Regions from separate parts of the Homo sapiens genome. Here regions 1, 2, 3, 5, 6 and 7 are each linked to region 4. The links are contacts of gene promoters, found by promoter capture Hi-C in blood cells and fetal thymus (Javierre and others, 2016). All regions are on one chromosome and are shown on one strand. The core of a region is centred on a gene start or on the middle of the fragment in contact, and the rest is flanking DNA. Distances in the headings are between cores, read along the strand shown.

The links. The method cuts DNA at HindIII sites, captures the fragments that hold promoters and counts their contacts. A CHiCAGO score of 5 or more calls a contact.
Region 1: a fragment that was not itself captured here is called in contact with the fragment with the promoter of VCPKMT in region 4 in 3 of 17 cell types (fetal thymus, non-activated CD4 T cells and total CD4 T cells); the score reaches 7.2 in fetal thymus.
Region 2: a fragment that was not itself captured here is called in contact with the fragment with the promoter of VCPKMT in region 4 in 4 of 17 cell types (non-activated CD4 T cells, naive CD8 T cells, total CD4 T cells and 1 more); the score reaches 7.1 in non-activated CD4 T cells.
Region 3: a contact is called between a fragment that was not itself captured here and the fragment with the promoter of VCPKMT in region 4, in 3 of 17 cell types (erythroblasts, fetal thymus and non-activated CD4 T cells). The highest score is 7.4, in erythroblasts.
Region 5: a contact is called between a fragment that was not itself captured here and the fragment with the promoter of VCPKMT in region 4, in 1 of 17 cell types (activated CD4 T cells). The highest score is 5.3, in activated CD4 T cells.
Region 6: a fragment that was not itself captured here is called in contact with the fragment with the promoter of VCPKMT in region 4 in 1 of 17 cell types (total B cells); the score reaches 5.8 in total B cells.
Region 7: a contact is called between a fragment that was not itself captured here and the fragment with the promoter of VCPKMT in region 4, in 1 of 17 cell types (total B cells). The highest score is 9.1, in total B cells.

What each region holds. Positions count from the first base shown.
Region 1 is chr14:49,575,832-49,579,961 of GRCh38, forward strand. It overlaps a transcript of RPS29 not described here and the pseudogene RPL32P29. Among named protein-coding and RNA genes, the nearest start is that of RPS29, 8.5 kb to the right of the region's middle. The HindIII fragment of the contact is 2,623 bases long and covers 97-2,719 here.
Region 2 is chr14:50,826,506-50,830,640 of GRCh38, forward strand. It overlaps NIN (ninein), which reads right to left. Exons shown (of 31, transcript NM_020921.4): 2 at 3,959-4,012. Among named protein-coding and RNA genes, the nearest start is that of NIN, 2.6 kb to the right of the region's middle. RefSeq lists an enhancer at 3,339-3,388 and silencers at 3,959-4,078, 4,099-4,135. The HindIII fragment of the contact is 164 bases long and covers 1,955-2,118 here.
Region 3 is chr14:50,775,095-50,778,907 of GRCh38, forward strand. It overlaps NIN (ninein), which reads right to left. Exons shown (of 31, transcript NM_020921.4): 6 at 3,671-3,710; 7 at 1,855-2,045. Among named protein-coding and RNA genes, the nearest start is that of NIN, 54 kb to the right of the region's middle. The HindIII fragment of the contact is 1,458 bases long and covers 885-2,342 here.
Region 4 is chr14:50,114,995-50,118,837 of GRCh38, forward strand. VCPKMT (valosin containing protein lysine methyltransferase) reads right to left here and starts at 1,578. Exons shown (of 6, transcript NM_024558.3): 1 at 1,293-1,578; 2 at 1,075-1,185; 3 at 845-917. The coding sequence starts at 1,558. It overlaps SOS2 (SOS Ras/Rho guanine nucleotide exchange factor 2), which reads right to left. Exons shown (of 23, transcript NM_006939.4): 23 at 2,136-3,843. The coding sequence ends at 3,350. RefSeq lists an enhancer at 1,515-1,574. The HindIII fragment of the contact is 15,614 bases long and covers 1-2,317 here.
Region 5 is chr14:50,790,538-50,794,498 of GRCh38, forward strand. NIN (ninein) reads right to left here. Exons shown (of 31, transcript NM_020921.4): 5 at 2,175-2,344. Among named protein-coding and RNA genes, the nearest start is that of NIN, 39 kb to the right of the region's middle. RefSeq lists enhancers at 33-172, 1,539-1,588 and a silencer at 737-796. The HindIII fragment of the contact is 2,027 bases long and covers 1,204-3,230 here.
Region 6 is chr14:50,645,888-50,649,937 of GRCh38, forward strand. All of the region lies in intron 2 of SAV1 (salvador family WW domain containing protein 1), which reads right to left. Among named protein-coding and RNA genes, the nearest start is that of SAV1, 20 kb to the right of the region's middle. The HindIII fragment of the contact is 3,377 bases long and covers 1-3,308 here.
Region 7 is chr14:50,754,346-50,758,655 of GRCh38, forward strand. It overlaps NIN (ninein), which reads right to left. Exons shown (of 31, transcript NM_020921.4): 18 at 2,147-4,285; 19 at 397-522; 20 at 218-287. Among named protein-coding and RNA genes, the nearest start is that of NIN, 75 kb to the right of the region's middle. The HindIII fragment of the contact is 479 bases long and covers 2,681-3,159 here.

The DNA.
Region 1 (4,130 bases), core at 158-2,657, 540 kb before region 4:
AGAGCAAGGCCATGTCCAAAAAAATTAAAATAAATTCTAATTTAGCAAATTACTTTATGTTCAAGACATTAAATGATAATTACCTCATCTAGATTAAGCTTGTGACTTTCTGCCTCTATTCTTTTAAAATTCTAAAAGATAGAAGATACCTGGAACTAGCACACATAATCTAGGCTAATTTTTGGACCCTGTATAGCCTTGATTCCTACACACACATATACTCAGTCTATCTACAAACTGAGCCTTTTATGTTCTACATTAACCTTCCTGAGAAACAGCTAATAGTGCAGCCTTTTTTTTTTTTTTAAGTGATACAAACATGACTCATTGAAACCTGGACCTCTTGGGCTCAAGTTATCCTCTCATCTCAGCCTCCTGAGAAACTGGGACTACAGACATGCACCACCACGCCTGGCTAATTGTTTTTGGGTTTTTTTGTTTGTTTAATTTTGGTAGATAGGGGATCTCCTGATGTTGCCCAGGCTGGTCTGGAACTCCTGGCATCAAACCATCCTCCTGCCTCAGCCTCCCAAAAGGCTAGGATTACAGGCATGAGCCACTTTGCCTGGCCTCTTTTTTTCAATTTTTGTCAATATTGAGGAAATTAAAACACTTTATTATACCCTTCTTAATCATACCACTAGAAGTGTTTTTTCTCTGCCTACCTAAAAACCCAAATCCCTAATACACCAATTACCATTAAAGATAGTTTTTAAGAACGATGTCCTAGCAGAGGTTATGCAAGCAGGCTGCTTTAAAACTGTTGAAGGCCAGGCACAGTGGCTCATGCCTTGATTATGGTTTGTGGGCTGTGTCCCCACCCAAATCTCATCTTGAATTGTACTCGCATAATCCCCACATGTTGTGAGAGGGACCCGGTGGGAGATAACTGAATCATGGGAGCGGTTTCCCCCATACTTTCTCATGGTAGTGAGTAAGTATCACGAGAACTGATGGTTTTATAAGGGATATCTGCTTTCATGTCTTCCTCATTTCCTGCTTGCCGCTGCCATCTAAGAAGTGCCTTTTGCCTTCTACCATAATTGTGAGGCATCCCCAGCCACATGGAACTGTGAGTCCAATAAACCTATTTTTCTTCCCAGTCTTAGGTATGTCTTTATCAGCAGTGTGAAAATGAACTAATACAAGCCTGTGATCCCAGCACTTTGGGAAGCTGAGGTGGGAGGATCCCTTGAGGTCAGGAGTTCGAAACCAGCCTGGCCAAGAGGATGAAACCCCATCTCTACAAAAATACAAAAATTAGTCAGGTGTGGTAGTGGGCACCTGTAATCCCAGCCACTTGGGAGGCTGAGACAGAAGAATCACTTGAACCTGGGAGGTGGAAGTTGCAGAGAGCTGAGCTTGCATCACTGCACTCCAGTCAGAGGAAGACTTCATCTCAAAAACAATACATAAATAAAATTTTAAAAAATAAAACTGTTGGGGGCATTAGCCACACGAACAACTGTCCAAAAGCCAGGGTCTCTGGTTTTTGTTGTTTTTGTTTTTACAGTTTTATTGGTTTTATTTAAACCCCAATAAAACAAACACATTCACTGTCTATTCACTTTCTGCACTGTGCAGGCTGGCATTGGCATTGGTGACTCTGATGACCACCTGGGCTGCTCTTTCCAAGATGGCTTTGCAGTTCTTGGAAGAAACATCATGAGTGATCTCAACACAGTAAGATTTGTTGCTCACCAGCAGTACTTCCAGCTCCTTAACGTTGTGGACCAGGAACTTCCAGAAGCCACTGGGCAGTATGTGCTTTGTCTTTTTGTTTCTCCCATAACCAATGTTGGGCATAGATCTGGCCCTCAAACCTTCTATGAACCCTGTTGTTAATACCTCTGTGTTTCCACCAGTTACCCTTAATTTTGACATATCAGTCTGACTGGTTCCCAGTGAACTTGGTGCTCTTTTTGATGATCTTGGGCTTCGCGAGCGGTCTCAGGATGGCCATGATGGAGGAGATGGGTGTCACCTCCATAGGCAGTGCCAAGGAAGACAGCTCAGGTCTTTCTGTAATGGTAAAAGAGGACCCATAAAAAGTGAAAAAGCAATGATGCCCAACCAAATTCAATAAATTTGTACTGCATGCCTGCCCTGTGAAACATGTTATGTCACTATCAGGATCTAGATTGAGTGGAATTAATTCAGAGAACACCAAAGATCACTCTAAATCATGTTTTAGAGAAACAGTTGAAATAATCAGAGATGGTTATACTGGAAATAAGAAGATTCTAGGAAAACATGAGAGCCTTCATGCCTAAATATTTAGCCCTTTTTTTTTTCAGAGATTAGACTTGTTTTGTACAGGACAACACAGAATTAATATCAATGAGTAGCAGTCAAAATCAGTAGAATGAAATCATAGCAACCTAAGAAAAAACTTACCATCAAAGCAATCTAAAAATAGAATGAGCTGTTTTAGGAGGAGCAGAAGCCTCACTAGCAATATTGGTACCAGGGACATTATACACTGCAGTATCTGGATACTCAATCTCTAAATGAGTCTTAATCAGATACTGCTACAAATCAAATCATAAATCACATCACCCAAAGTCAAATGCTGCTAACATAATGACATGTTTCCTTCTGATTTTTTTCCCTGTGTACTTGTTTTTTAACATAATAAAATTGTAGCACATATACAATTTTTCACTTTTTATAAAAAAAATTTCTTTCGGCAATTTTGTAGACTACCAATATTTACCAAAGCTTTCACTTTTTTTTTTTTTTTTTTTGAGACAGGGTCTCACTCTGTCTCCCAGGCTGGAATGCAGTGGCATGATCTCGATTCACTGCAACCTCGCTTTCCCCGGTTCAAGCGATTCTTGTGCCTCAGCCCCCCAAGTAGCTGGGATTACAGGCGCACACCACCATGCTCAACTAATTTTTGTATTTTTAACAGAGACAGGGTTTCACCATGTTGACCAGGCTGGTCTCAAACTCCTGGCCTTGTGATCCACCTGCCTCAGCCTCCTAAAGTGCTGGGATTACAGGCATGAGCCACCCCGCCCAGCCAGCTTTCACTTTTTGTTGAACATTTACAGTTTAGTGGTAAGAGCAGTTTTCAAGACATACTACCTGGTTGAATCTCTCTTACTAGCTATACAATCTTGGGAAAGTTACTTATTCATTGTGCCTCAGTCACCTCATTTGTAAAATGGGGACGGTACCTCAGGGAATTGTTGTATTAAAGGAGATTCTACAGCCAAAATGTTTATGTCCCCCATAAAATCCACATGATGAAACCCTAGCCTGTGGGTTGTAGGAGGTGGGGCATTTTGGAAAGAGATTAGGTCATGAGAGGTCAACCCTCATGGGAGTAGTTCCCTTATAAAATAAGCCCAAGAAAGCTCATTTGCCCTATCCACCATGTAAGGACACAATGAGAAGGCACCATTTATGAGTCAGGAAACAGCTCTCACCAGACATGAAATCTACCAGCACCTTGATCTCAGACTTCCTAGCCTCCAGAACTGTGAGAAATAAATGTCTGTTATTTAAGCCACTCAGTCTACTGGATTTTGTTACAGTGGCCCAAAGACACTAAGACAGAATCCAAACCTAAGAATATATCCTCTGCCAGAGTGGTGGCTCACACATGTAGTCCTAGCATTTTGGGAGACCAAGGCAAGAGGATCACTTGAGGCCAGGAGTATAAGACCAACCTGGGCAACACTGCAAGACCCTGTCTCTACAATAAATTTTGAAAAACAAAGAATAGATCCTCTATGTTCCAATGGTTGTTTGGGCCTCTCCTATAGCACCTACCATCTTTTGCCATCAACACTTATTGAGCTTTTACTAAGTAATTTAGTTCAATTCCCCAACAAATGAGGACCTATTAATCTACAAGGCATCTTGCTATGTGCTTGGTATGCATGTAAATATGAAAGGAAACACTTACTCCTGCCCTCAAGTAACTAAGTGATCTTTGGGAATAAGAGATGCATAGTCCTCTAACCATACAATAAGTGTGTTGTGAATATTAAGAGCATAGGCACTGATTTCAGACAGACCCAGTTCCAGTCGTTTTGTCTCTTTCTTTGGGAGACCTTGGGGAAATTACTTAATCTCTAAGCCTCAGTTTCCTTGGCTATGTAATGATGATAATACCTGCT
Region 2 (4,135 bases), core at 787-3,286, 710 kb after region 4:
GTGTTCATTACCCCAGCTGATGAAATCACAGTGCCAAATAGGACTGCAAACTAAATAGGTGGAGGTGTGGCTAGAATCATGAGTGGACATGTGGATTTATGAACTTTTCAGTGTTCAACCAAGGTACAGAAAGGAGCTTGTAACAATGACACCCCAGCTAAAGGGGACGTCTGTTCTGGGCCAGAGGGAGTGAAAAAGGGACAAAGTCTGGCGAGTGAAAAGGGGACAAAGTCTGGCAAGTGAAAACCAAGTAATAAATATGCACAATGCTAGAGCCCCTAGCCCAGGCCTTTTATTTCGCATCCAGATGGTTCAGCAGCTGAAGAGCTCTGCGGAATGTCTGCATGCCCCTCTCGGCTCAGCTGCTTTCCTTGAGAGGGCATCATAATAGATGCTTTTGGACCTGTGTGCAGACATAGCTGTTGGGGGTCCACAGACTAGGCAGTGACCACCAGTGACTCATTTACTTACTCTACAGCTGACGTGATGAACACCGACAAACCCCACTTGGGCAAAGCTCTCCATTTATGCCTTTAGCTTTCACCATTTGGCAAGTCGGAGCCTAATAACGCCAATGATCAAATTAAAGTGCTCTTTTTCTTCTTTCTTTTCTGCAAATACTTTAATTGGCTGCACAGATTTTCAGGCTCACCATATTGGACTACTTTCAGTATAAAAGGAAAGAGTGACAAGGATAAATTCAAGTTTAGTAAAAGCTCAATAGAAAAAGCAGTTGCAGCCATTTACGAGTTTATATAGGAGAATACTTCCGCCAAAAACCAGTGCTGCTTAGCAGCAAACTGATTACTGTCAGAATGCCTCCTCTCTGCTCAGTGTCTCACTTCTAGCTGGATACCAAAAGCACAACAATATCACTGTGAATGAAATCATGATACAAAAATATAACACGAAAGCTTAAATGCACAGGAAGAAAGTCACATTAAATACATTTGAAAAAATGGCTGGGAGCGGGGGCTCATGCCTGTAATCATAGCACTTTGGGAGGCTGAGGCAGGTGGATCACAAGGTCAGGAGATCGGGGCCATCCTGGCTAACACGTTGAAACCCTGTCTCTACTAAAAATACAAAAAAAAAAAAAAAAATAGCTAGGTGTGGTGGCGCACACCTGTAATCCCAGCTACTCGGGAGGCTGAGGCAGAAGTGTTGCTTGAACCTGGGAGGCAGAGGTTGCAGTGTGCCGAGATCATGCCATTGCACTCCAGCCCAGGAGAGAGCGAGAGACTCCGTATCAAAAAAAAAAAAAAAAAGAAAGAAAAAGAAAAATAACAACCTTTGTCAACTACACTATAATATTTAACTAAGGGAATCCTATCAGCGTTTATTCGAAAATGTAAGCAACCTTTATTATTTTACTATCCTGAAGGATGTAATAAACCCATGCTTTTGTTCAACCTAATAACTGGTAGATTACCCAATCAAGTAGTTAACTCAGGTTAGCTACAGGAAAAAAAAAACAAAAAACAAAAAACACAACAACAAAAAAACGCCATTAGCCTGGCACAATGTGCATTCAGTAACCTGTAATCAACTACTAAGTAAATTACAGAAGCAGAAAACAGAGCTGCATGTTTGTTACAAAAAAAAAAAAAAAGGAGAAAGCTTATAACAACTTCCACTTCTTAAGCCATATTGACTCACATTAATTTAGGATGCCTGAGGCTATGAGTATGGTACCCTGAGGTGTAAGTGAAGGTGATCTTCTCTTCTCACGTCTATGAACAATATTTTCCCAACTTTGTTTTTAAAGTGAGAATTAGGGTATAGATAGATGCTTTGTAATTTTTCCATCCAAAAGCTTGAATAAATGGTTAATTGCTGACTTAAATTGCAATAAAGAAGTGTCCTAATTTCAAACAAGGATGCTCACTTTCAGAATCTCATAATCTTTTCAAAATTCTATTTTATTCATAAATAGGATAAAAATCTTTTTGCAAGCTTCACTAAGTCTCTCCATAAGCCCCTGCCCAACAGATGCAAGTTCAATAGCTAGAATTCAAACCAGATAATTTATTGGCTTACAAATGAATTGGCATCTATAAAAATAAGCCTTCTAAAAAGGCTTCACGCTGTTTAAATCCTTCTAAAATGCTCTGGCTAAGCTTGCCCACCCTTTATCAATGTAAGACTGATAAAATGCATTTTCATTATCAACATAAAATGGAAGCATCAAGATAGTTGAAATGTTAGTTTAGAAAGTCATTTGCAGTGACATTTAAAACAATTTATTTGAACATTTGACTCATGATAAGAATACTGCCTATTACATTAAGATTGGCTGTTCAGAATTCACTGGAGCCCTATTCTCCCCCTCTGTGACAGTTAACATCTTTTGATATTAAGGGTCATTACACATCTAAAATGAAAAAGAAATAAGAAAAAAGAACCCCACGCCATTCTGAGCAAGTGCCTATTAAAATGACTGATCCTTGACATTTTAATGCAGACTGTATGATGGCTTCCTCTCTATTGCCCCCTGTGAAGCCTTTCCCTGTATTGGTAATAACTTTGCCGATGTCCAACCCTGTGGAACATTCATCCTACCTTTTCCCCACTCTGCAGAATGCTTCCCTCTAAAGAATCACCAGAGAACAGGGAAAATAAACAAATCTGCAAACAAATTCCCGGGCAGTTCACATCACCTCCCAAAGGACACTGACAATAGCTGAAGAGACCACAACACACAAACTCGTTTTTCAGCCAGCCTGTAATGTTCCTCCTATACACACTCTGGAAATCCTCAGCTCCCTTCAACTCCGGAGCAAGAGCCACCAATATTCCAGGTCAGCCACCTATATAATATGCTCACCACGAGAGAAGACTCAAGGTAAAATTAAACTGACAGAAAAAAGGAATTTTCCTTGTTAGATCATCAAGCCTCCGGAATCATGCAAACATGTGTGTATGTTATGGTGTTTACGGGGACCTAACTGAGAAACGTCGTGGTTCCAGGGGCTTCCCTCATGTGTCAGGATGGACTTTATCAGGATTCTCATCCTACAAAGCTACCATGTCAGTCACAAAAGACAACTACGCAATCTGTTTCGATGTAATAAATTCAGGAGTTGAGCTGTATGGCAAGCCCATCTTAGAAGTCCTCAACACCAGGAGAGGATCTGTCCTAGTTAGGAGCAGAAAGCAGATCTCATAATATCCAAGTTGTCTGGAAACATGATATATGGTAGGGCAGTCTTTCCAGCTCCCATTTTGTTGGTGCCTTCACCTCGGGTTGTCAGGGCTGGGGTTAGGGAAATTGCCTCTTTCCGTCTCTATCTCTTTTAACTTCGCAGCGAGAGCTGGAAGCAGTGACTGTTCCCATCACCTAGTGTCCTTCTGTCAGGGGCCGCTTCGGTAGCTACAGAAGCCTAGCCGCTGGAAGCTTCCTTCCCCGACACTCCATACCTCCATGCCACACCTTTTAGGCAATAACCAAATGTCATTTTGTTCTTTCCCCTTCTCCTGGGCATTATACTGGGAAACTGTTTACGCGCATCGACCCCGCACACCTCCAAAAATCTCCACTTTCCGGGCTCCAAGCAGCTCTCCGCTACTCAGACAGCCCAGGCTAACACCTCGGATTTCCCCATGCAGTTTCCTCTGCAGCGTCTCAATCACAAGGCTGTACGGGCGGCACATGCCAACGGAACCACCACCCCTTCTGCTCCCTCGGGGACTCAAGCCTGCTCTCGGTCAAAGCACAGAAGCGGCTTTCAGCTCCGGGCAGGCGGCCGGGGCGTCGGGGGTACTGGAAGTGCCCAAACCCAGCGGTGCTGCCGCGCGGGGAAGCGGAGGTGCGGCCGCAGGACAAGCGCGCCTCCCAAGTCCCTGGCCACCTGCGATGCGTCCTCAACTCGCCTGCCCATCGCCACTACCAGAAACCTCAGACAGCCCATTGTGTGGGCAGGCAGCGCGCTCCCCCGGCCCCGCCGCCCTCGCCTACCTTCTGTCGGTCTCTCCGGAGCGCCCGCACAGCCGGCAGCCCGCCTCCAGCGCTCTGCAAAGCGAAGGAGGACGCTTTGTTAGGGCTGGAGAAACGGGACAATACTTCGCAGCCGGCGCAGCGGTTCCGGGCGGGCGTCCTTCAAAAGGACGCGAATGGGGACCCGCGTGAGCGTCA
Region 3 (3,813 bases), core at 364-2,863, 660 kb after region 4:
TGCTGGGAAACTGAACACAGGAGTGCATGTCCTCTCCAAAGGGGCTGGCTGCATCTTACTGCCCATAAAATGGAGCCAAATCTTTGGAGTTTTAGAAAAATCTCCTGATTTTTTTTTTCAATGTAGCAAAAAGTTCAATTTTAAAAACACTGGGCATGACAAGTAAAATAGGCTTGGGGCCAGATTCGGCATCGGGCATGCTGGTTTGCATCTCTGCCCTGTCATTGTTCTTGCTTTCGGAAAGGAGTGTGCTAGTTACAGGCATAAGACAGTGACTCTAGTTCCCCTTCATGAAAGCAGGGAACAGCCACGATTTCACTCTCTCTACCTATAAAATGAGAGGTGACTAAATCTAAAATGGCGTTCAGTTGTAAAATTTTAGGATTCCAAGTAAATGAGATCATCTTGAACTTCCAGCTCCTCTGTGGTTTAGAGCTAGTAATACTAAGTACTATAGAATTTCACTATTTTTCTTTAGCAGGAAAAACACTAAGTAAAAGTTATATTCTATGAGCAATCCTCTACTTGTCCTCAGGCCAGAGGAAAATAACTAAATGTGCTACTTCTTTTCCTGAGCTTTGGAAACCACCACAGAAGAACATGCAGCTCTCCACAAGTAGCTACAGTTTATTCCAAGAATTGGTTTTAGATAAATAATCCAAGTTTGTGCAATATTTTTTGGCAAAAACAACCCAAGGTTCTACATATTGCACTGATTTACAATTCAGGAGAATAAATTTAATTTTATGACTTAATAGTCACCAATGAAAAATAAATTACCACTGAGCCATTACAAAGGTAAACAAAGGGTATATAATGGTCAAAAATACAGGAAAGAAGGGGAAAACAACAAAAAAAATTTTCTGTAAGCTAGGCTACTTGAAAGCTTTTGAAAATAAATCAAAAGCTATTATTTGTTTAGAAAAATACCACTAAACAAATATTTCTATTATCTGTTTAGAAAAATAATACCACTTATCCCCCGAGCAAGCAGAAAGCATGGTTTCAAATATCATTATAATCAAAGATTCCCAAAGCGACAACTGTAGCCCTACCCTAACTCTCTCCAATCCTTATTTTCAGCTCGTTGAAAGGCACATCTTAGAATTATTTCTATTCTTATGTTTCACAGCTATTCATGCACCCAGTCCTACCAGTTCCTCCCTTAATTTTTTAGAAAACATAAAGCTCAGAGTTTTACCAAAGAAGAGTCTTTTGGGGGCTCCTTCAAAACTCTTCTTAGTATTTTCAAAACAACCAAACTACCCTTTACCATTTTCTCATGACCAGAATATTGTAATGGCTGCTGGCTGCTCTCACCCAAGGCTCTCTTCATGCTAATATGTAAAAGCAGTTTAGCTCCTCGTCAGCAAGCAAGATTTTTCTATATATTGCTCAATCTGCTTAAGAACTCAGAGATGATATTGAGATGTTCTTTCCAAAAACTTAAATTTATCCTTCTGGTCTTCAAAATACTCCCCCAACTCAAATCTACTGAAATCCTTGCTTAATTCTGCCTCCACATGTTTCCCACAATTTACTCTGTGAATGGCACCTCTACAAATACATCTGACATCATGGCTACAGAGAGCTAGTGCCTGACAGTTTCACATGGGGTAACCTGCCTAGCACAGTGAGCTTACAATAGCTGGGTAAGTGTCAGCTCTTGTCAGTTTTTCTTTTTCACAACACAACAAGAGCTCCTCAGTGACAGAATCTTCATGAATGACTTCTTAGGAAAAAAGAAAATGGAGCCTAACAAGCTGCAGAGAGCCACACTACAGCTGTTCCTAGCATGTGGTCAACTACACTTTTACCATCATTATCATTCCTGAATTATACTGCGAGGCTTACCTCTCCATCCACATTCTGTAAACCATACTGCTCACAGATGGAGACCAGCTTCTTCCGGTTCAGGTGACCATCACGGGTGATCCCCAAATCTTCACAAACTTCTTGCAGTTTCTCTTCTATCCAGTCTTGGGGAGGGGAAGATCCACTCTGTGAAGCATTCAAGTCATCTGGGTTCCAAAACCTTAACTGGCCTGAGAGAGAAGCATATGTTGCACGGTTTCCAAAGGAATTGCAAAGAGAGAGTGCCTATTCTTAAAGAAAACTGTGCTTTTTGAAAATAAATACTGTAAGAAAAAGGCAATAAATGTCAATTCCATTTTGATTTGGTCCTGAAGCTCCCATGAAACAGAATCAATGGTTCTAAGGCTGCAACTAGAGTAAATGGGTACTTTTTGGCTCCCTGACAGTCATACCGGTGTAATAAATATAATCTCCTGTGCAATACTGCAAAGTTCTAGGCTTGTTTTATTTCAGCTGAGCACATCACAAGCTTAGGCTATAGTGATCATAGAGAAAGAAGGCTGGTTGAGGGCCATTATCGAGAACTCTGTAAGCTCTATCTCAACTATAGCTACCAGAATGTATTACCTCCACTTTCTTTCCAGCCTAAGTACTACAGCATCTTTTACTGAAAAGAAAATAATTTCATGATAAAAGTCTCAACATTAGCCTGTTCCCAAATCCTTACATATGAATATTCTGACATACAGAAACCAACAGTCCAACTGAAATTAAAAAAAAAAAATCAATGGTTGCAAGCTATAAGTTCCCAGTTATCTATACATTAAATTTCATTTGAAGACTTAAGGATCAAACTACTTATTTAAAAATCAAAACTTCTTATTTATTCTCTATTAAAAGCCCTCACTTCTAAATTTTGCTTTACACATTAGAGATTCTGTAAAGTCATTACTTAAACATGAGATAATTACTGGCACAATTTTGTGTGCTTGGAAGAACCTCAGAGGGTTGAAAGCAGTATTTAGTGCTACTCCCACTCTTTAGTGACAGGAATTAAGCCCATTACTGCTGTGGCGTTTCAACCTAGAGAACAGGTTGTAATTACACTTAAGTACAGTTAATCCACAGAGGGCTGTGAAGTGGGCTGAGGTTCTGTTAGCTGAACCACAGTGCCATCTGGTGGCCAGAGGATCAACGTGTTCTGATGCTTCTTAAATACATTTGAAACTTGTCAAGGGATGCATTTTTAAATTAATTAATTAATTTATATTGTTATTTTTATTTTTTGAGACAGAGTCTCTTCTGTTATCCAAGCAGGAGTGCAGTGGCACAATCACGGCTCACTACAGCCTCCAACTCTCGGGCTTAATGGATTCTCCCACCTCAGCCTTCTGAGTAGCTGGGACGACAGGCATGTGCTACCACACCTGGCTATTTTTAGTAGAGACGGGGTATGCCATGTTGCCCAGGCTGGTCATGAACTACTGCGTTCCAGTAATCCTCCTGCCTTGGCCTCCCAAAGTGCTGGGATTACAGGCGTGAGCCACTGTACCTGGCCAAGGGATGCACTTTAATAGGTCACTATTTAAGACTGTTAGAAAATTAATCTGAAAGTCTGTATAAGAGAGAAATTAGCCCGTAAGTAAAATTATATATCTTAGTTACCATCTCTTGCATGATACTAAATGCTAGGATTTTAAAACTAAAAGCTATCAATTGGGAATAAATTTTTTGTTGCTGTTGTTCTTAATGTTAATTCCCCTGGCCTGCAGCATAAGAGATCAGAAAGACCGGGTGTGGAGAGCACCCGGCGGCCCTTCCCTTCCAGGCACGTCCTGACACACTCGGCTCTTACCTTCCGCTTCATACTCCTCACTGCGTTGCGTCTTCCAGTGCTAGAGAAGGCAAGAGAAGATTAGTGTGCTTTAGAACTTATTCAGAAAGAACTATCCTAGCTTTTCCTAGAGCAGATCACTCTCTGGCTCTGAAATCATCATC
Region 4 (3,843 bases), core at 328-2,827:
AACCTTACTCTTAAAAGTTTAATTTTATTTAATCTAATTTGGGATTTAAATAATCAACGATTTCCCTACAAAAGTTAAATCTGACCCTAACTTGGTTCAATGCTAATTATTTTTAAAATAATCGATGCCCACAACACTATACAAACTGATGTTTTTTTTTTTTTTTTTTTTTTTTGAGACAGAGTTTTGCTCTTGTTGCCCAGGCTGGAATGCAATGGCATGATTTCGGCTCACTGCAACCTCCGCCTCCCAGGTTCAAGCGATTCTCCTGCCTCAGACTCCCAAATAGCTAGGATTACAGACATGCACCACCACGCCTGGCTAATTTTGTATTTTTAGTAGAGACAGGGTTTTGCCATGTAGGTCAGGCTGGTCTCGAACTCCCGACCTCAGGTGAGCCACCTGCCTTGACCTCCCAAGTGTTGGGATTACAGGCGTGAGCCACCGCGCCCGGCCCAAACTGGTATTTAAAGAAAAGAACAATGAATTATTTATAACTTAATTCTCAATGTCATGGTTAACATGTTCCGTGGGAACAACCAAGGGAAAAAGAGAGGATTTTGGCTTTTCATAACATCCAATTGGCAAAATCCTTTAAAATTTTTACAGAAGCCTCTAGTAAAATGCATATAACACTTTTCTCAACATGCTTCACCAGGTCGGTATGATAATGATGAGCGTATATACATATGGTCCCTGGTGACTTTTATCTTCTCTTTACTGCATCAACTATAAGGCAAATCCCGGATTCAAAGATGTTAAAATGTGAAGAAACGTGTGCTTTAGAATTCATGGAATAAGGTTCATCTTCTAAGTGAAGAGACTTCGCTCACTGGATACTTACCTCTTCATAGTATATGCAGTCGGCCATCAGTATGAAGTCGGGTGGAGAAGGAAAGCCTTCTATTTCTTCCCCCCTTAAAAATGCCAAACAAATATTTCAATTGTTTTAATAATTCAAAATACTCTTGTTTTATAAAGAACCGGAAAGTCCCCTTCCATCCTTTTAATGAAACGCAATTCAAAACAAACTACAAATCAATATCTTAAAACAAGCTGAAAGGCCATACAAACCATTTCAGTACCTTGGCTTGAACAGAACCAGTGACAAGATGCTTGTTCATATTAATATTCATCTTCAGCAAGTCTTGCAATTCCTCAAGATCGGTGACTACAACATCAGCCCTATAAAATAACGTCGACTGAGGTGTAGGCACAGGGGGGAAAGCCTGTAATCCGGATTTCCCCAGCAAGAAGGCGCCCCCACATCCCGCCCGCCCGCCAGCTCTTACCCGAGGGTAGCAGCCATGAGCCCCACGGCCCCGGTGCCCGAACCCAGCTCCAGCACCGACCGCCGGCTCAGCGCGTGGGCCCCGTCGCCAGAAAACTCGGGCGTTTCCAGGTATTTAGAAAGGACAATGGCAGCGTCCCACACAACGCAACCCACGCCACCGGAGCTATACTGCTGTAGTCGTAGCACTGTACCATCCCGCTTCTCCAAAACTCGCACAAAGCTCCGCAGTGGGTCCTCCAGCGAGGACTCCAGCGTATCCGCCATTGCGCCCGGCAACAGAAAGCGGCGCGCGCAGGGACGTCACATCAACGCGCACCGCCCCGCCCTGCGGCTCCGCCCCCTGCCCGCCGCTGAGTTGGCGACGCAGCGCGCGCGAGTTAACAAAGCCCGGAAGGCAGCGTTACCTGGGCGGGGCCGAGCGTGGGGCCCCTGCTTACCCGACGCGCTTGGCAGCCTCCCTCTACCCTAAATCACACGTTTGGCTTAACGAAGAGGCCGTTTAAATCACTTTCCCAGACAAAACTATTATAATCTGCTCTTTAAAAAACAAAGCCAACCTCAGAGTTTACCAAGTTGGACACTTGATTTACATAGTAGTTACAAGGCTTAAATGCAATCAGCTTCCAAGATCCTACCAAAGATGGCTATAATCTTACAATCTTCCTTTTCAAGTTCCTAGTATGCTCCTAGTTTTTTGTATGAATTCATAAAAGTGGTTGCTAGAAGCCTGCAGCTCACATTTAACAGTGAAGAAAAAATTGTGTGTGTGTGTGTGTGTGTCTATAGGACTCAACAATCTCCCCCTTTGTTCCTTATAATGAAAACACATATTTTAAAAGTCTTTTAAAAATTAAGACTGGGGTGATTTATTAATCTTGTTAAGAACTCTGATACAAAGCACAGTAAAAGGCCACAAACCAGTAAATAAACAACGTGGCTTTTGGCTACTTTACAACTGCTGCTACAGCACTATCAGCAAAACACTCTATCACTTTGAACGAAGGCATCCAAATGGCAAATAAAAGCTTTACTCACTTATCTGATTAAAATGTTTAATAAAGCTTTAAGTATTTGCTGGTTTAAATATTACCAATCTAAAAAATATATTTAAAAAAAATTTCAGTTAACACGAGATTTATAGAGAAAGTTACTAGGTCTTGAAGGCAAGGCAGTTGGTTCCTATGCCATAGAATTTTTTTTGAATTTATGAATTAGTAAAGTAGCAGATTGTATTATAGGCCTCAAGTCACTTAAATTTATATAGGTTATTAGCAGTATCTTTAAATATACAATATAAACAAAACTGTACATACATGGCATATTAACTGTTTTCCATAACAATAGGCAATTCATTAGCTAAAGACGTCATAGTCTGCAAAAACAAAAGGCACATCTGAATGAGATACATGCCCTTTTTCCCTCCATCATTGGGTTATGTAGTCTTTGTTTACATTTTGACAAAATAATAAACACTTACAGTGCCATTCTATTATTTTCATCCTACTTTTCATTTTTGTCTTCAGCAGCAAATACCGGCATTTAAGACATGGCATTAAAGAGTTTAAGAACAGTTGGTGTTATTCACAATTCTCCTAGATGTAAAAACTAGAAGTAAAAACTAGAAGATGGTCAAAGAGGTTTAAAAATCAGTAACACCATATACCCCTCCCATATTTGTGTAAATTCACTGCCTTAAAAAGGCATCTATTACTCAAATTTGAAAAATTTCACAAAAGCACTATCCCTTTTCAGTGCAATCATGTCACTTTAAACCATATTTTTGCAGAGTTTACAGTGCAAATATAAATTCTTTATACTGGCCTTTTGGCAGCACTGAGGATCCAAGACAAGGCAATGCTACTGATCACCTGAGGATAATGGTGAAGGACTTTTGTATTTTTATTTTTCCAATTCTTAAAAGCTTATTTGATCAGTAGCATTTTTGTAAGAGCATTATTTGTAAAAAGTACTAAAATACTATGTCTTTTTTTGAATAAATTAAAAAAAAAACTTTACAAATACCATTCCAGTGTCAATGACTACATATGGCTAAGGTCATTGGGGAGTTTCTGCATTTTCTAGCAAAGGCAGTCTGTACAATGGGGGGTGCGAAAGCTCCCGTTTGTAAGTCTTTGGTGGCAGTTTTGGCAGATGAGGGCTTGAATTCTGCCTTGGTGGAACAGGGGGAGCTGGAGGATGAGCAAGATTATTCTGACTAGAACTGAGCACATAGCATCGACGCGGTACCCTTGGAGAGGGTGTGCTAGGAGGAGTGCTTGGCGAATTTGGACACGTACTAATGTCTCTGAGCCAGTCTGAATCTCTGTGAAGATGCCCCAGTGGAGGTGGCTGAAGATTAAATGGACAGTTTATAAAGTGTTCTGGAGGCCGAAGGGGAACTGGTGGAGGGGTATCAGGAAGAGGATCTCTTGGTGGTGGCGGAGGTGGACTATGCAGAGGCCCATCAAATGCACCAGTAGGAACAGGAACTCTGGGTTTTACCTTTGGAGGAGGAGGCTGTCTCGGTGGAATAGCAGGAGGATCATCAT
Region 5 (3,961 bases), core at 967-3,466, 680 kb after region 4:
GGGATATAACAGAATAGCGAAGTTGAGTCAGTTGGAGTCCTCGCTGAGAACAGAAATCCAGAGAAATGACCCTCTCCGGGCCTCTATTTGCAGTTCTGCTGATGGAGGGTGGTGAATGCTACAGCTTCTGTGTATAGCATCAAGAGGTCATATCTAAGAGGTTTCTGGAGGAGTTAAGGGAAGTTGTAAGTACATCAAGGGTGAAATGATACTCCCAAAATACCATTTTACTGAGACATAAGCCACAAGATTTTGCCCAGGCTCAGGCCTCAACTCTTATCTTTATTTATACATGAAATCAAAGTCTCACTTTAAAAATAGTAAATCTCCCTGGGCACCAGTAGATAACATATAACAAGGATATAAGAAACATGTTGCCAGCAACAAAGTCAGCTCTGCCCAACAGCTTTCTGCGTATTCCTAGATGAGGACTAGAAACTCATGTCAAAAAAAAAGTAAGCATTTACTTTCTTAGTACCAAATAATACCCTGGGGACTGAAATAGTTGGGGAAATGAGTTATTAAACTTAAAAGTGTTTTCCAAATAACAAAAACTTACCTGCTCAAGTACTGAGACATTTAACCATTTTTTTCATAAAGAAGTACATTCCACACCACTCAGGGTTATAGAACAGACTTTATGATACCCTTCCTGACAATAAGAAAACTATTACGAACACTGTACTAACTGAAGTATGTAAATTACTTGCATCCCTGAGATTGTATATGTAAAATTTTTGTGCATATGAGTATATGTGTTTTACTGGGGAAAGACCCCTATCTCAATTCGCAAAGAGACCCAAGAAAGGAGAAGGACTCCTGAAACTGTTCTCAGCTTTTTCTGCTTTTGGCTTTTTCTATTTTCAGCTGTCACTTCTCATCCACACTACTCTTATACCACTTTTGTGGGTTTTTTTTTTCTCTCTTCTCTCTTTTAGTTGCTTTTCTCCCTCTCTTCTCAATAACATTTCTGCCACTGCTGCTTCACTTGTGGTGAAGGACAAGTGTCATTTGTTTTTTTAAAAAAAAATGATGCAGACCCCGATCAGCAGACTGGTCATGTGTCCTTATAAATTTCCGTATTTATTGCCAACACTTGGGCTCAACACTTGGGCTCTTTTTTGTTATTTTTGGATTTTGGGGTATTCTGGAAAGTTGAGGAGGACACTGGATGTCTGATTGCTGGGGCCATTATTGGGAGCAAGCTTCCTGTAGATTTCAGTAAGCTGAACATGGATGTTAGACCACAATGAACACACAGGTGCACGCGCACACACACACACACACACACACACACACACAGAGTCCACTGGCAATCTACAGACCACTTTCAGAAAGTTGAGGCGCTTTGTTTCTTTTCCAATTTATATTAGTATCTGAAATATCTGTAGCCCCAGTCTGAGCTGGGATTTGCAAGAAATATTTACAGCTTGCTCAGCATGGCATTTTCAATCATGTTCTATAAATGGGATGCTGGTAAATGAGCCATAAAGAAAGAATAAAGAAAATGTTACTGAACCTCCTTTATTGGTAGATTATGGCAATATGCAAAATGAAAAGATGGGGGATGAGGGAGGCTGGCGACTCTCCACATGCTGGAGAACGAGACAGGCCTGGGTGCAAGGAATCCAGCAGAAAGAACCATGGCAACTGCTGGGCACTGGAAAGCACCCCAGGCTCAGTATCTTGAGGCAAAAACCAAGTGTTCGAGCTGCTTTATCACACTACAAAAGATAAGATGCAGGCTTTCAAAATGCCTGAACGCGTTGCTTTCATTTCCTGCTACAGATGCTGTTTTATAGTTTGGGGCAAGGGAGGGGGAGGAGCTGGTTCGCCTTTTAAATAACTAAAAATGATCATGCTATAGAGGAGAGAGATATTCAAGAACTAGAAGTGGGAGACCTCAGATGATGTGGAAATACCTGAACTCTAAATGTGTACATGACGCATGCACAGAAATGTCAGCTCTCCAAAAGCTGAAACGAGGTAAAAACATTCAAAAGATAGAAACATTATATATGTCCAAAAGGCAAGTAATAAGATTAGCAAGGAGTTGGTAACTGAGAAAAGCCCACATCGTGCCATCAACCCCCTCAGCTCCCCTGTCTCTGTGCTGCACTGACGTGGGGCTCCACACTCATGATCCAGATGAACGTGCATGCCCGATTCCTTACCTCACTGCAGTCACCGGCTGGGATGTGTGAAGGCCGCGCTTCTTCATCCAGTGGCTCAATCACCGTCACTTCAGGAAACTCCTCCACGGACTCTTGGAACTCGGGCAAGGACCTTCGTCCGTAACGCTTCCCACCTCTAACATATTTGGGCTGAGCTTCTAGTGAGCAGTCTGAGAGAGGAGACAAGAGTTGAGGCCACATGACATGAGAATCTCAGTTCTTAGCTGCCACTCACAGCCATCGGACACAGCCTCTTATACCAACCTCAAAATAAACCACCACTGTTTGCCAATTGTGGTGGCTGTGGGTGTATATGAGCCATCAGGTCAGATGCAGAGCACGCCTTCTAATTCTGAACGATTTATGGGACCGTGAGTATATATCTGCACATGACGGGAGCAATCCAACAATGGCAGCAAGGGATCTGACTTAATTGCAGAGGATTAAGGTCAGGAAAAGGTGAGGGGTCACATTTGTTCTGTTTATTAAGCTGGGTTTTCCAGCAGGATGGGGAGACATCATATTAACAAAGAGACACCTTGGAGGAAGTCTTAGAAAATGGTAATACAACAGACACCAAATCAGCACTGTATACTCAGTATCCACATCAATTAGTCTGAAACACCCTCCCCTACCTCAGTGATTCCTCTGTTAACCATTCCACTCTCTGATCTATCAGACAAGCAGATGACAAAACAAAGAAACGGACACAACACATTCTAAGCAATTAATGACAGCTAGTTACGTATATGAAACCCGGCATCAAGATCTCATTGTAAAATTAAAAACAGTAAAATAAAATAGCAAATGTGAAACCACAGTAAAAAAAATTGTATTATTTTATCTCTTTGTAAGCATCGGTGTTGTACAAAATAAAAAGGAATGTGCATGAGGTGAGAGTCATCTCTTGATCTTAAAGAAGGACTTCAGCATTTTGACATCACTTGTCTCAGGTTCAACACTGACCACCTTCCCCGTTACCATCACCACCACTGCTGCCATCACCACTGCCATCACCACCACCACCACCACCTCCACCGCCACAACTACAGGCTAAGCTTTTTCTACAATTGGAGCTTTAAAGCAATAAAATAAATACTTCACTCTATTCAAATGTTATCTCAGCTATAGATTTTTTAGCACCTTGTACAGCATCAGAATAAAATGTTTCATTAAAGTACAAAAGATGACAATGCTTTGATTTCTGTTGTCTTGCTGTCCACATATTCATACTCTCTCGAGAACAGATATGTATTCTGTTTGAACATGAGTCTTAGCAAGGTATGTCTGAACTCAGACATGTAGACTTTTAAATGAGATTATGTACACGTATTATAAAAACGACAATAGTTGATTAGATAAGAACTAAAAGAACGACCGTTCCTTTATCACCATTGAAACCATGCTGGGGTTTAGCCATTACTTTACAGTTTCCCAGGGAGGACTGGCGACCCTCTTTGACTAAACACCTCCCCGCCATGTCCTTCCCTCTGGGACAAGCTCGGATTTCACTATCTTCACAAATGTGGCCAGACACATTCTGAACATGCTCAGCAAAGCTCAGAGTGAAGTATTTATGGTAGCTATATAATTTCTAGTGATATTTATATCCAGCTTTAAAAAAGTCCCAGTGAAGTCATTTTATTAGGTCGAGTGATTCTCTTACAGGAAGTGTTTAAGCATACAAAATTTATACTGAAAATTGCATGCATATTTGAAGGTACCTTTTATCAGAAGACAGTGTGTCAGCTTGTGACCATTCAGGAGCGGCCCAGACACCCGAGCTA
Region 6 (4,050 bases), core at 370-2,869, 530 kb after region 4:
AAACAAAAGTTATTGAGATAATATAATTTATAATAGCTCCAAAGAATTGTGCAGGACCAATATGCTAAAAACTACAAAACACTGATGAAAGAAATAAAAAACCTATCACATTAACGGATTGGAAGATTCGACATAAAGTTAAGATGTCAATTCTCCTGAAATTATCTTTATCTTTATAGGAGTCCCCCCCTTATCCATGGGGGATCCATTCCAAGACCTCCCGTAGATGCCTGAAACTGCAGATAGTACCTAACCCTGTGTATGCTGTGTATTTTCCTATACATACGTATCTATGATGAAGTTTAACTTATAAATTAGGCACAGTAAGGGATTAACAAAAATAAAATTGAACAATTATTATAATAAAAACTGGGTGAATGTAATCTCTCTCCCTCTCTCTTGAAAGATCTTGTACCATATTCATCAATTTTCAGACTGCAGTTGCAGAGGTAACTGAAACTGTGGAAAGCAAAACCATGGATAAAGCGAGACTACTGTCATTCCAATAAAAATTCCGGCCGAGCGCAGTGGCTCACGCCTGTAATCCGAGCACTTTGGGAGGCCAAGGTGAGCGGATCACCTGAGGTCCGGAGTTTGAGACCAGCCTGACCAACATGGTGAAACCCCGTCTCTATTAAAAACACAAAAATTAGCCGGGCGTGGTGGCGGACGCCTGTAATCCCAGCTACTCGGGAGGCTGAGGCAGGAGAATTGCTTGAACCCGAGAGCAGAGGTTGCAGTGAGCTGAGAACGCGCCATTACACTCCATCCTGGGCGACGAGAGTGAAACTCTGTCTCAAAAAAAAAAAAAAAAAAAAATTCCATGGAGTTTTTGTAGATACAGATAGTTATTAAACAGATTTTAAAATGTATACTGAAAGGCAAAAGAGAACTAGAGTAGCCAAAACAATTTTTTTGAAAAAGGGATAAAGTTGAAGGACTCACACTACCTGATTTTTAAGGCTTACTATAAAGCTACATTAATCAAGACAGTATGGTATTGTCAGAAGAACAGACAAATAGATAAATGGAACCAAACAGAGAATCCAGAAGAACACCCACACAGACATGGTCAACTGATTTTTTTATAAAGGTGAAAGGGCAATAGCGGGGAAAGGTTTTTCCAACAAATGATGTTGCAACAACTGGACATCCATATGCAAAAAACCTAATCACAACCTATACCTGCCACCTTACATACAAATTAACTAAAAATAGATCATATATCTAAATTTAAAACTATAACGCTTTTACAAGAAAAAAATAGAATAAATTTTCATGAGTTTAGTTTAGACAAAGAGTACTTTTTTTTACCATGATGCTGAAAGTTCAACTCATAAAGAAAAAATACTGATTAAATTGAACTCTGTCAAGATTAAAAACGCTTGTGAAGGACACTAAGAGAAAGAAAATCAAGCTGTAAACAGGGAGAAAATGTTTGCAAATCACATTATTAGCCAAAGAACTCTGACCTAGAATATACAAAGAATTCTCAAAACTCAACATTAAGAAAACAACCCTGAGCCTGCTGCAGTGACACGCACCTGTAGTTCAACCTACTCAGGAAGCTGAGTAGGAGGGTTACTTGAGCCCAAGATTTCAGGTCTGTAGCACACTATCATCATGCCTGTGAACAGCTACGGCACTCCGGTCTGTGCAACAGAGTGAAACCCCTTCTCTCAAAACAAAAACAGAAGAAGAAAACAAAACGACCCAGTTAAAAAAAAGGGGGGTAAGAATTTTTAACAGGCACTTCACCGAAGACAACATATTGATGGTAAATAGCACGTGAAAAAATGCTCAGGATCATAATTAGCCGTGAGAGAAATGCAAATTAAAACCATAATGAAATGACAATACACGTCTATGAAAATGGCCAAAAAACCAAACAAAACCTGACAATGCAAGTGCTTACATGGATACAGAACAATTGGAATGCCCATACACTGCTGGTGTGGATGCAAAATGCTACAGTCACTCTGGAGAACAGCTTAGCAATTTCTTATAAAGTTAAACATATGCTTTTCATATGCTACAGCAATCCCATTCCCAAATATTTACCCTAGAGAAATGAGAAGTCATCTTCACACAAAATCCCATTTGTGGATATTTACAATGACTGTATTCATATTTGCCCCAAAGTGGAAATGACACACATGTCCTTTAACAGAATGGATAAACAAACTGTGGTGCAACTGTACAGTGAAATCTACTCAGGAATAAAATGGAACTAATTATTGGTACATGCAAGAATCTCAAAGATGAATCTCAGAAGTATCATGCTGAGGGAAAGCAGCCAGTCTCAAGTGGCTACAAATTGTACAGTTCCATTTTTATGAGATTCTTCCAAACACAAAACTACTAGGACAGAAAACAGTGATTGCTAGGAACTGGAGGTGAGGGACAGGAGTTGACTATAAGAGGACAACCTAAGGGAATTTTAGAGGGTGTTTGAAATGTTCTGTATTCTCATTACACAGGCATTACATGAAATCTATACATATGTTAATACTCAGAACTGTGTAACTTGAAAAAAGTTAAATTTACTATACTTTTTAAAAGAATAATCTGGCTGCATAATTTTATTCTCACACAAGAATACTAATAGTTGGCCGGGTGCGGTGGCTCATGCCTGTAATCCCAGCACTTTGGGAGGCCGAGGCGGGCAGATCATGAGGTCAGGAGATCGAGACCATCCTGGCTAACACGGTGAAACCCCATCTCTACTAAAAATACAAAAATTAGCTGGGCGTGGTGGCGGGCGCCTGTAGTCCCAGCTACTTGGGAGGCTGAGACAGGAGAATGGCGTGAACCCGGGAGGCGGAGGTTGCAGTGAGCCGAGATTGCGCCACTGCACTCCAGCCTGGGCGACGGAGCAAGACTCCGTCTCAAAAAAAAAAAGAATACTAATAGCATATGTATAACAAATCACCCCGAAACTCAGTGGCTTAAAACAAGAAGTATTTATTTGGTTCACCACAGGTTGGTGATACTGGCTGAGCTCAGTAAGTTTTTTCCTTGATATTTGGTACAAGTTATCTTTACTGTCTCATTACTTGATGAAAGTTATCTCTTGTATAACTTTCAATATGAAGCCCTACTGATGATCAGACCTCCATTTCTTCTCTGACTTAAGCTGCTATTTTTTTTACCCTTAGCTCACTCTGTTCCAGCTACACTCACCTCCTGGATGCTGTTCTCAAACACGGCAGGTACTGGCTGTTTATTCTCCCTAGAAGATTCTTCCTTCAGATATTCTCTTGGCTCACTCTCACCCTCTTCAAGCCTCTTCTCAAATGTTTCAATGAAGCTTATTCTTACTATGGCAGTCTACATCTGCTGAGCTTCTACTTACCGTTTTACTTTTTTAAAAAGCACTTTAACCTTTTAACTTATGTAATTTTAGTTTGTTTATTTACCTACAAGAATCCCACAAAGAAGATTCTTAGGACAGGAATCTTTGTTTTGTTCACAGATACATCTCCAGTCTCTAGAACAGTGTCTACAGAATAAAGCACATAGTAAGTGTTAAATAAATAAGCTGCAGTAATAAAGACAGTGTAGTATTAGTGGAGGAGATACACACATCAATGAGACAGAAACTGCATAAATATTTTCCTTGATTTTTGGACTTATTTTGCCTCTTTCACTCCCATATTTTACTAGTTCTGAAACGAAGGTGTTTTTTATAATCAAGAGAGTAAATCTGTTAGCCACTAGGCAGCAAATACAGATGTATTATCATTGCTGGTGCATGTTCTAACACAGTCCTAGGAAGACAGTATGTGGTTCATACTATTATTAATCCTCATTATTTGTAACAGTTGCACCCCAGACAAAATTTTAACATAAATTTGAATCCCTGTGCCTGAAAGGTACAAGGATACAGCATTTAAATGAAAAGTTAGTGTGTTAACAGAAGACTGCCAGTCAACCCAAGGCCCTAACTGCCAAATTTAGAATATCTCAGAATGGTCAAAATAAGAAAGACTGGGTGACCATTGAGGTGTGAAGGAGTACCATGCCAGAGCAAAACATCTACTAGTCAAA
Region 7 (4,310 bases), core at 1,670-4,169, 640 kb after region 4:
CTTAGGGCCTAGAATAATATATACATTATTTAACATAAAACAGGAAGCTAGTTTAGAGTCAGTATGAGGTAAGTTTCCATTTTCAAATTCAGAATTTACAACCTTACCATCATTAGCTATATGCTATTCATTACCGTGTGCTGTAAATTTATAAATTTCAAAAAATGGGAAAATTTTGGAATCAAAAAACATTGAGAAATATTAAGTATTTCCTTACCTGTTTCTTTAAATTTTCAACCATCTTCTGAACTGCAGCATTTTCTTGTTTTACAGTTTCCGTTTTTTGCCTAAAAGGAATGATGAAAATAAAATTTAATGGTTAGGCTTTAAAAGCTGAAGTAAAAGAATTTTAGTCTTTGCAAAAATGTCTTAGGAAAATGTAAGTATACGTCTTACCACATTTCTTCCTGAGATCCATTTAATGTCCCTAATTTCAGGTTAGAAATGCTATCTTCTTCATTTAAAGTAGTAATTTCATTTCTCAAAATAGAATTTTCCTGTTGAAGCTTTTCAGATTCATATCTGAAGCACAGAGATTGAAAAAAATTGTTACAAGGCAGTCATCTGGCATCTTTGGAAAATATTTTCTAGTAACTTCCAAAAGGATGAGTATTCAATGCCAGTTAAAAAGAAAAGTCTAAATTAGTAGTCTCTTAGTATTTGGAAATCGAGTTATGACATATTGACACATTTCTTTTGGGAAGTAAGAATTTCACTAAAAGATGTTAGAGAAGTGTAGCTAAAAAACCCTTAAGCCTGGAGAAATGAATCAAGACTCAATGCTCATTCTGGTTGTTGATTTTTCTCAATGGCAAGCATACTGCTTTGAGCAAATGTCTTCATTTATCTCAGTCTCAAGTCCTACCTGTTCTGAATACACATAAGCCATGTTACAAAGCTATATTAGCTTAGTTTTAGGCCCCTGGGTACCTAGGGAAAGAAAATTCTCTATTGAAATCAAAGGGCCACAATGAAATATGTACACTGTTTACTTTGTGATTTTATTCATCTCATTATATTCTGATTTTTAGGACTAAAAATGGTCTGAAGAAGAGGAAAAACTACATTCAGAATTAAATTATTTCAGAGACATTTCAGACGTCCTGTAATAGTTTACAAGTTTTTTTTTTTTTTGAAAAACCAAATTTGCTAGAAGACTATGCAATTATATTTTACAATGTCAAGTGGGCAGTGGTTCAAATTAATTCTACTTGTATCTCTGCTTTTCAAGCATATTTATTAGAATCTGGAGGCTCCTCAAATTATATGTTCTAAGATAAATTTCCACTGTTTGTTTTGTCTCTTTTTTTTTTTTTTTTTTTTTTTTTTTTTTAAAAGAGACAGGGTCTCACTCTGTCACCCAGTCTGGAGTACAATGGCATGATCATGGCTCACTGCAGCTTTGACCTCTCAAGCTCAAGCAACCCTCCCACCTCGGCCTCCCAAGTAGCTGGGACCACAGGTGTGCACCACCACGCCCAGCAAACATTTTTTTATTTTTCTGTAGAGGCAGTCTTGCTATGTTCCCTAGGCTTGCCTGGAAACTCCTGGCCTCAAGAAATCCTCTTGCCTTGGCCTCCCAAACAGTTGAGATTGCAGGCATTTAAGCCATGGTGCCTGACCATTTGCACTGTTTATGGGTTATCAGCATGTGCTTCAAGTGATATGAGTACAAAACTATAAAGACAGAACATTTTTTCTATATTAGCATAAGAAGTGAGTTCTTATCTACTAAGTTAATAATACACAAAAAATCATTCATTTGTATATAACATGTTTCCTCAAAATGAGGAAAGTAACACTTAGCAAAATAAAAAAAAAAAATCCCCTATCCATCTAAATGAAATAAGTGCTAGAAAAAAGTTAAAGAGGTACATTGAGGATGCACATGGTTAAACAGCAAACACTCGCCATTGTGAACTTTCACACCCCATATGAACACTTGTTTGCTACAGCGGAAGGGAATGCCTCCTAAACAAGGTTATTTTATTTGTTAATACGGCACAGAAGCAGAAGGAAGTCTAGAGAGTACTGCTCTCTTCGTGAAGACTACTAGGTTAGTTTCTCTAGGCACGGCAAGCAGTGGAAGTTAGATCTGGTGAGGTGCTCTGTGGGATTCGTGACGTCTAGAAGGTACATACATTACCTCAGAAGTTCAACTTTTTGCTGCATCTCACTGCACGTGATCTGCAAGTCATGCATCATTGCCTTCAGCTCTTCCTCCTTTTCTCCGTGAGAAAGTACATCTTTTTGCTTAACTAAAATAGTGACTCTCTCCTTCAACTTCCTAGTCAGCTCCTGTAACTTTGTTTTCTCCAGTTCTAACTCTGCTATGGTGGCCTGATGCTGAAAATGTTTGTCTTGAAAGCCTAGGAGAGTAGTGTTTTCCTCCAGTATAACTTGATTCTGTACTCTTGGCCTTTCTTGATGTGTCTGAATTGTTCCATGTAACCAGGCAATTTCATGTGCTTTTACTTTTTCCAAGAGCTGTGTGTTCCCCTCAAGGTACTGGTTTTCTTGCTTACATTCCTCTATGACATGATGTACACTCCTAACCCTGGGCACACACTCTTCCAGTGTCTGATTGAGCTGGAGTATATTTCCATCAGGTTCGATTTCCAGGTTCTCTAAACTGGCTTCCCATAAGCAGCAGTCACACCGCTGGACCACGCTTTCCTGAAGCTTCTCAATCTTGCCTTGAAGTCTCAAAACCAGAACATTCAGCCCCTCATTTTCTATTTTGACCTCATCGTAACTCTTTTCCAGGCTGAGGAATGTTTCAGTGACTTCCTCCATTTTCTTCAGCTCATCCTGCAACCTGAAAACCTCTGCAGTGAGTTCTTTGTTATTTTCTAGTGCCTCATCGTAGCGTGTCTCCATCATTCTCAGCTCTTCCTGAAGGCAGTCATTTTCTCGGCTCACATCTTCATACAACAGCTTATATTTGGGAGAAGCCTCAGGGATTCTCTCAAGCATCTTCAGTTTCTTTTTTAGCACAGAAACATCAAAAAGTAGGTCCTGTTTCTTTTCAGAAGCTCGATCACAGTCCGCACATAACATCATTAGCTGTTCCTGAAGCTGACTAATCTGATTCTTCAGCTCCCAGGATTCAGTCCTGGTCTCTTCACTGTTTTCAAGCTCAGAAAAACCCTCTACTGAAGCTTCAGACTCCTCTATTTTGACTTCCTGTCTCTGAACAGAGCTCGTCCCTGTACTTCCCAGGTCCCGGACCTCATCATCTTCCAGGTCACTTAGGACATGCCGCCTGGTCACACCTTCTACTTGCTTCGTTCGGTTTTGCTGTAAAAACTGCTCTGTTTGTTCCGCAGTATTTCCAAAAAACTCAGTAGCTGGCTCATCCAAACAAGAAGACATTACTAACCCTGGCTCTAACTTTTGTAGCCTCTGTTGCAATCTAGAAATTTCAGTAGCCATTTTCACATTTTCCTTCACTGCCTGTTCATGAGCTCTCTGCAGGCTTAAGAGGACGTCCCCATTTTCTTCCAACAGCTGCTCCCCTTGCTGAAGCAGGGACAGGGCTCCATCTCCTTCCACCTCCTCCTCTCCTATCACCTGGCAACCACTCTGAAGCATTGAGAGAGGAGATGTTGCCTGCTGCATTTCCTTTATTTTACTCTGAAGTCTGGAGATTTCTGTGCTCATCTCGGCTCTTTCTCGATCTGCTGTCTCACAGGTCGCTTTGTGAATGTTCTCCATGGCTAGAAGCTTGGACATCATTTCCTGCCTTTCCTGGTCATGTTCCATTTCTAGTCTTTCCAGCCGCTGGCTGGCCAGCTGCTCCGAAGCCCCTGCCTGGCACAGGACCTCCTCACGCTCCCTCAGTTCCCTTTTGTGACTGCTCTTCAGCTCAAGTATCTGGTCAGACAGCAGGCTTTGCTGGGTTTCAGATACATTTCTTAGGTCTTCCAGGTCTTGGAGTAGCTGCTGTCTCTCGACGACCATGCTGTTCAAATGTTCTTTGTATGTTTTCTCCAGCATCTCTCTCTCCTGGGTCAGGACCAGAGAAGTTGTTTTCTCTCTCTTAAGAGTCTCTTTCAGCAGCTCCTGGGCTTCCGCACACTCCTGGGTGAGCTCGTCCTTCTCAAATTCCCACTGGGATTTCTCCTCACGCTGCTGTTCCTGGAGGTCCTTCAGCTCTTGGCGGTAGCGCCCCTCCAGGCTTTGCAGAGCGCTTTCACACCTCTCAGTGACTTTCTGACAATCAGACTGAAACTGGGCTTCTATTTGAGAGGTTCTTCTATTACACTCTGTTTCCATTTTTTCCCTAAATATAGTCAACATACAGCATT